Regions from separate parts of the Homo sapiens genome. Here region 1 is linked to region 2. The links are contacts of gene promoters, found by promoter capture Hi-C in human tissues and cell types (Jung and others, 2019). All regions are on one chromosome and are shown on one strand. Each heading gives the region's core, a stretch centred on a gene start or on the middle of the fragment in contact. The rest is flanking DNA. Distances are from core to core; before and after follow the strand shown.

What was found. The method cuts DNA at HindIII sites, captures the fragments that hold promoters and counts their contacts. A contact is called where the count stands out against the background at its distance.
Region 1: a contact is called between a fragment that was not itself captured here and the fragment with the promoter of PSG5 in region 2, in 1 of the 25 tissues and cell types used here (H1 embryonic stem cells).

The regions. Positions count from the first base shown.
Region 1 is chr19:43,150,976-43,154,181 of GRCh38, reverse strand. No RefSeq gene overlaps it. Among named protein-coding and RNA genes, the nearest start is that of PSG11-AS1, 2.2 kb to the left of the region's middle. The HindIII fragment of the contact is 3,003 bases long and covers 1-2,929 here.
Region 2 is chr19:43,185,066-43,188,461 of GRCh38, reverse strand. It overlaps PSG5 (pregnancy specific beta-1-glycoprotein 5), which reads left to right and starts at 1,926. Exons shown (of 6, transcript NM_002781.4): 1 at 1,926-2,120; 2 at 3,315-3,396. The coding sequence starts at 2,057. The HindIII fragment of the contact is 15,826 bases long and covers 1-3,396 here.

The DNA.
Region 1 (3,206 bases), core at 179-2,678, 34 kb after region 2:
CTATTGTTGACTTTCGATCTTTGATATTTACCCTATGCAAATTCATCAACCCCTGATTTTACTTCTTCAAAGCCAGCATGAGGCTAGTCAAGCCTGGTTTCCTCTTACAGGAAGTAAGTCTTTGGCCCCATGGTATTTGTGTAACCAGGTTACAAGATTTAAAAATCTATTGCAAGTGACAGTAATTAAAAAAAAAAAAATCAAATGTGGGCTACTCTGGAAAAAGAAAGCATTGGAATGTAGACTTTATTTGTTCATTTGCAGAGACGTGAATCAGCTTATACTCGTTTGATTTCCACATTATTCATGGAGAGTCTAAAGTCAATTTCTGGGAACAAAAAACCAACTTGAAAAGCTGTTTAAATTCTATTAGTGGGACTTCCAAAGGTATAAGGGTTAAGAAAAAGAGAGGAGAAAAGAGAAAAGAGGGGTAGGGAGAAATGAAAAAGTGACACGAATGTGAGCCAGACAATGGAGATGGAGAAAAAGCAGTCAAGAGGGACAGAGGGCGCGGTGGAGGTCTGCAGGATCTGAAGATCCGCCTGTCTTCTCCGGACGCTCACCTCTTACCTGATCCCAGAAACAGACTGAGCTTTAACTCTGACCACATATTCCTCAGGGTGACGGAGAGTGGGGCCACCTGCACCCTGCCAGCCTTCCACAGCCCCTCTGCATGGGCTCTGCCCCGCACCCTACACGTGCTCTGAGGCATCCTATTGCAACAAATGACTTCCTCGGGCTTCCATTCCCTCCACCGCCTCTTTCTTCTCGCTCAAGCATCTTCAATGGTCTGGATGGGTTTCTTTGCTTCCATTTGTCACCTTCCACTCACTGGTCCTCGTCCACTTCCATCTTCCCCTTTCTCTAACATTGCTTGTACTGAGATCAGCAACATCCTCCTTTATTGCTAAACCTGCCAGGAACTCACAGGTTAGTTTTGCATCCTTTGACACTGAGGGCCATTTCTTTTCCTGGAATAATCTCTGTGAGGCAAATATACATTTTTAAAAATTTTGTTTAGCCTGTTGCAAAAAGATAAAGAGACTCTCCTCTTTTCGCTCAGAGCATTTTCTATTCATTCATTTATTCATTTATTCATTCATTCATTCATTGACAGAGTCTCCCTCTGTCACCCAGGCTGGAGTGCAGTGGTGCCATCCAAGCTTACTGCAGCCTTAACTTCCTGGGCTCAGGTGATCCTCCCTCCTTAGCCTCCTGAGTAGCTGGGACTACACGCACACCCCACTATGCCCAGCAAATTGATTATTATTATTGTGTGTGTGGAGATTGGATCTTGCTATGCAGCCTAGGCTGGACTTTGAGAGCATTTATTTTTTAGAAGAGGTAATTGAAAATTCTTTCTCTAGCCCTTGAAGATGTATGTAAAGCTTTCTAAAGCATACATAAACATCTTGCCTGCCAACCCAGAACTGTCCTCCTCAAGGCCATAGGAGACCTCTCTTTGAAAGGCAGGCATCCGGGCAGAAGGCGCCCCTGTCTCCCAGTTTCTGTGAGAAGGAAGGAACCTCAGTTCTTGGGGCATCTCACTCCCAGTTGCAAAACTACCTCCTGTCATAGATAAGAGGTTTGTTTTTCCTGTAGATAAAGCCAATTAACCACACAGAGAATCAACCCACTTACTGGGTGAATTTAGGATGAACTATGTGTGACAAATGGTGCCATTGAGTCCTTTCAACTGGAAACTAGTCACCGTCTATCTGGAGACCATGTGTGTAACGGGTTGCACCTGCTTGGCTGGATCCAAAGTGGGATTTATTTCTGACTTTGTCATCTCTCAGCAGATTGCATCACATTTTGGCTTAATGCTTAATCATAAGACAGGTTTCTTTTACGTCTACGGATGTGATGGGGGTTTCTGGGATGAGCAGAAATTTCTTTCTTAATTATATTTTTCCAGCACCCCCCACCCAACCTGCCCCACCTTCTCTGAAGCTACTTCCCCCAGGCTTTAAAGGCGGCTGCTCCCCGGGGTTCCTCCCGGGCCCTGCCTCTCCTGGTTCATCTGATCTCCCACCCTGGAGGCATCATAGCTTCCCTCCCTTCCATGTGCTGATGCCTCTCGGATCTCTAACTCTAGGCAGAAAACAGCTTCTCAGTTCCTCAGCTCAAATACCCACCTTGGGACGGGCATCTTCACCGGGACATCCCGCTGGAAACTCTCCTGGTGGAACACGGTGCATGTTCTCTGGCTGCCCTGCAGTTTTTAAATGCCACCAGTACACATGGGGAATGTTCTTCTTTCCCAAGGAGGAAGCCGGAAAGTTCATTTTCCCAGCACTCCTTGCAGGAGGGACACCGACACGGGTCCAGGCTTTCCCCATTAGGTGCTCCCGTGAAAGACTCAGGATCCTGAACAGCACCAGGAAGCAGAGGGTGCATGGCACCGATTTGCTTTTTGTTTTTGTTTTAATTTTTTCAGTGGGGATCGGGGACAGAAGCTTCTGGTGTAGAAGCTTCTGGACCCCAGGGCCAGCCTCAGCAGTGCAGGGTGCAGGGTGTGGTTTCTGCCTCCTGCGGTAGCCAGAAGGTCTTGACCAGAGCTGTCCTGTGCCTGTGGTTTGGTCCTTGCCCTGGGCCCTGTGGCCTCCAAGCTGGCTTCATGAGGGCCCTTGGAGCTTGGTGACCTTCCTACCCTGTCCTTTAACCAGTCCCTTTTCTGCTTCTTGCTGGAGTGAGCTGGGAGGTTTTTTCTGAATCTGCTCCTGTCCTGGGTTCTCCCTTAGGGAAGGGCACCCTGGGCACATGACCCCTCAGCCAGATGCCCAGCAGATGCTCTCATGCTTCCACTTTCCTTGCCCCTTTACGTCCGGTGATCACTCCTTTCTGTCCTTTCCATGTCCTACATCTCTCTCTGTTGTGTCCTGTCTTCTGCACCCTGTGGCCTCCACCTAGGTTTGCATCACCACCCATTCCTCCTTGAATGCATACAGTTGTCTCCCTGGGTCTACCTGTCTCCACAGTGGCCACCAGCATCCGAGCCAGCTTCTTCTCTGTGTCAGAGATGATCTTTTTCAGGCCTCCTCTGGCCATGGCCCTCTCCTGCTCCTCTTTCCAGAGTTCCCAAGTCTCCGGGATGCACTCCAGCTGCTAAGAGAGGCCTCAAAGTTTGGGTGATGTGGCCTCCACAGTCCTCCTGAGCAGCCGCCCACCTACCCTTATCCTTTAGCTCCATTACATTTCCTTTT
Region 2 (3,396 bases), core at 677-3,176:
CACAAACACAAACTCACAGAAGGTGACAAAAATCTGCATTTGGGACATCTGATTGTGAAAGAGGGAGAACAGTGAACGTAGAGCCACACAGACTGGGACTCACGGGGCTGGAAGGTGAAGGAGCTGTAACATAACGTAAGTGTGACCTCGTGTGAAGTGTGCAGATCCATGTGGAATAAAACATGCAGCCTGGCCTGGGATTGCTGCCGTTCACACTTCCCTCCCTGTCCACCAGAGGACGACAGAGTCCCTCCCAGCCTGGAGCCTTCCCAGGGGATGCCAACGTCCCTCATTAGAACCCACAGCCCAGAAGGGTCCACCCTCACCAGGGTCAATTCGGCCCAAGTCCTCAGCGCCCTCCATGCTCCCCACATGGACTCTGTCAGCTCCTCTCTGACCTGGCGGCCGCCAACCTAACACCACTCCCTCTGTAGGTAGCTCCAGCCCCACACACCTGCTCCTTCCCTGGGCCCAGCTAAAGGCATCTCCCAGGGCAGCGCTGGTGCACGCGACGCCACGCTGAGCTCTTTCCCCTCGTGACCTCCCTCCATCCTCATCAACTCTTTCTGTCACTGCTCCCTAAATGCCCGCCCCTGCTCCATCTGTCCTGTTCTCTGGGGCATCCCAGGCCAAGCCTAGTGTTGACACAGAACAGTGGCTGCCTGAGGGCCCACAGCCTCCCCGGGAATAAGCCAGGCACCCTGTGTCCTGCCTGCCTGCTGCAGCCCAGGGGGCGCAGAGAGCGTGTGATGGTCACACACAGGCACCATCCGGGATGTGGCCACCTGCCACCAGCTGTCCCTTGGGAAGACAGACCTCTCTTGTGTGCTTGCGGGGAGATGAGGGGTGTTATTGCTCTTTGCTCTCAGAACACAACTCACCCCCACCCGCCCTCTCAGGTGTGAGCAACGTCCCTCCAGACAGGATCTCTGGCCAATGCCTGTTCCTCCTCTACAGAGAGCAGCTTGGCCAGGTCAAAACCCTCAGGACAGACCCCTGGGTATGTCAGCACATGGAGGGCTGAGCCCATCATGGCCACGGAGTAAGTCGGGATGAATCTCTCCAGCTCTGAACCCCTGCTCTGTCCCAGGCTCCCCCTCCTGCGTCTCAACGAGCCATGTCCCGCGGGGTTCCTGGGTAACTCCCCACTTCCTCCTGCACCACAACGGGGAAGGTGTGGTGACCCCAGGACAGTCAGCTGGGCAGAGAAGAGAGGACATCAAAGATGGTCAGGGAGAACATGAGAAACCCTGAGCTCCAGCTCAGCTGCCAGACCCCAGGGAGCCATAGAGTGATGAAGAACTGTCCTCTTGACTCTGGGACTCACAGCCCCCACTGAGCAACCAGCACAGGCCTCTCCTCCCAAGAGGCATGAGAGATTCACCCTGCACACCTCCAGGAAGGACAGTTTCCTCTGGGACACCCAGGTCCTGAAGGTCCATCCTTGGAAGCTGCAGCCAAGCTAGACACGATTAGAGAAAGGAAGGGTCCCTCTCACCAGGCAACACACAGCTCACCCACAGCACAATGGGGTGTCACTGTGACAGGGACCCGTTGCAGCTTCAGCCTCCTGCACTGAAGGGGAGAGCCAGATGGGGATGAAAGAGGGCAAAGGGCGTGAATGTGCATCCCGACCCAGAGCCATGGGGACAGCAGGAGGCTGAGGCCCAGGACTCTGCTTGCCCAACCTGCGGGGTATGTGTGTGACTGTGTGGGTCTGTGTGTGTCTCTTCTGTGTGTGTGTGTCTGCACAAAGTGTGGTTGAGGTTTGGTGAAAGAATCACTGCTGAAAAATGCAGAGGCCTCCACAATTCCCAGGGACCTGAAACACAGACAAAAGGAAAAACAGAAGGAGGGACAAGGAGGCAGGACTGAGAGAGGAGGGGACAGAGAGGTGTCCTGGGCCTGACCCCACCCATGAGCCTGAGAAGTGCTCCTGCCCTGGAGAGAGGCTCAGCACAGAAGGAGGAAGGACAGCACAGCCTACAGCCGTGCTCAGGAAGTTTCTGGATCCTAGGCTCAGCTCCACAGAGGAGAACACGCAGGCGCAGAGACCATGGGGCCCCTCTCAGCCCCTCCCTGCACACAGCACATCACCTGGAAGGGGCTCCTGCTCACAGGTGAGGAGAGAACTTCCTGGGAGAGGACAGGAGGAGGAAGAAGAGTGACTGGATTGGGTCTCCTGGAGAGGATGGGGTTCTAAAAAATAAAAGAAGCCAGCACTTTGGGAGGATGAGGTGGGTGGATTATGAGATCAGGAGTTCAAGGTCAGTCCTGCCAACACAGTGAAGCCCTGTCTCTACTAAAAATACAAAAAATTAACCAGGTATGGTGGTGTGCTCTTGGAATCCTAGCTACTCTGGAGGCTGAGGCAGGAAAATCACATGAACCCGGGAGGCAGAAGTTGCAGCGAGCCGAGATAGCACCACTGCACGCCAGCCTGGGTGACAGTACGAGACTCTGTCTCAAAAAAATAAAAAGAAAAAAAAGAAAAAAGAAAAAAAAGGAAAGAAGTCTCTGTTGGAGCCTGGATAGGGTAAAATACACCAGAGAGGGACAGAGGTCAAAACTGGAAAGTCATATTGAACCGGAATTGGTAAGAGGGCCACGACATTTTGAAAAATGATAATAATAACTATATCAGATGACACTTCTAATAAAAGTATAAGCAGGACATGAAACACTGTCCTCAGCAAAATCCTCAACAATTGGGGGAAAATAAAACACCAAGGGTGTGGAGGGCCCTGAGAACTCTCACATCTGCAGGAGTCTGCAGCCTGTTCCAGGCACTGGGGTGCAACCAAGATCACAAAAGTCCCTGTCCTCACAGAGCTCACGCTGTCATGGGGAGGAAGACAGACATGCAAAGAGATCTAGAATGTGAGGTCAGGTGTTGACAAGAACCCTGGAGGGAGCAGAGCAGGGAAAGGTCAGAAAGGGAAGACCCAGGGTCTCTGAAGGACGTGTCAGGAAAGAAGTCTAAGGATGCCCTGATGTGAGCAGGACCTGAGGGCAGTGTGGGGGGGGGGGGGTGCCGTGTGGACCCCTGGGGAAGAGGATTCCATACAAAAATGCCAAGGTCAGAAGTGTTGAAGGAATAGGGGTCACGCTGCTGACCTTGACCTAGTAGGACAGTAGGACACACACACATACACACACACAAACTAACATGCACCTTTTGTGTGTGTGTGTGTTTGTGTGTGTGTGTGTCTTCAAGGCTGAGGATTGAAGAGACCTTCTCAGGACCCAGGGCTCCATCTTTTCACCCCAATACACAGGTCTCAATATTGACTGGTGCTTTCTCCACCTCCTAGCATCACTTTTAAACTTCTGGAACCTGCCTATCACTGCTCAAGTCACGATTGAAGCCCTGCCACCCAAAGTTTCCGAGGGGAA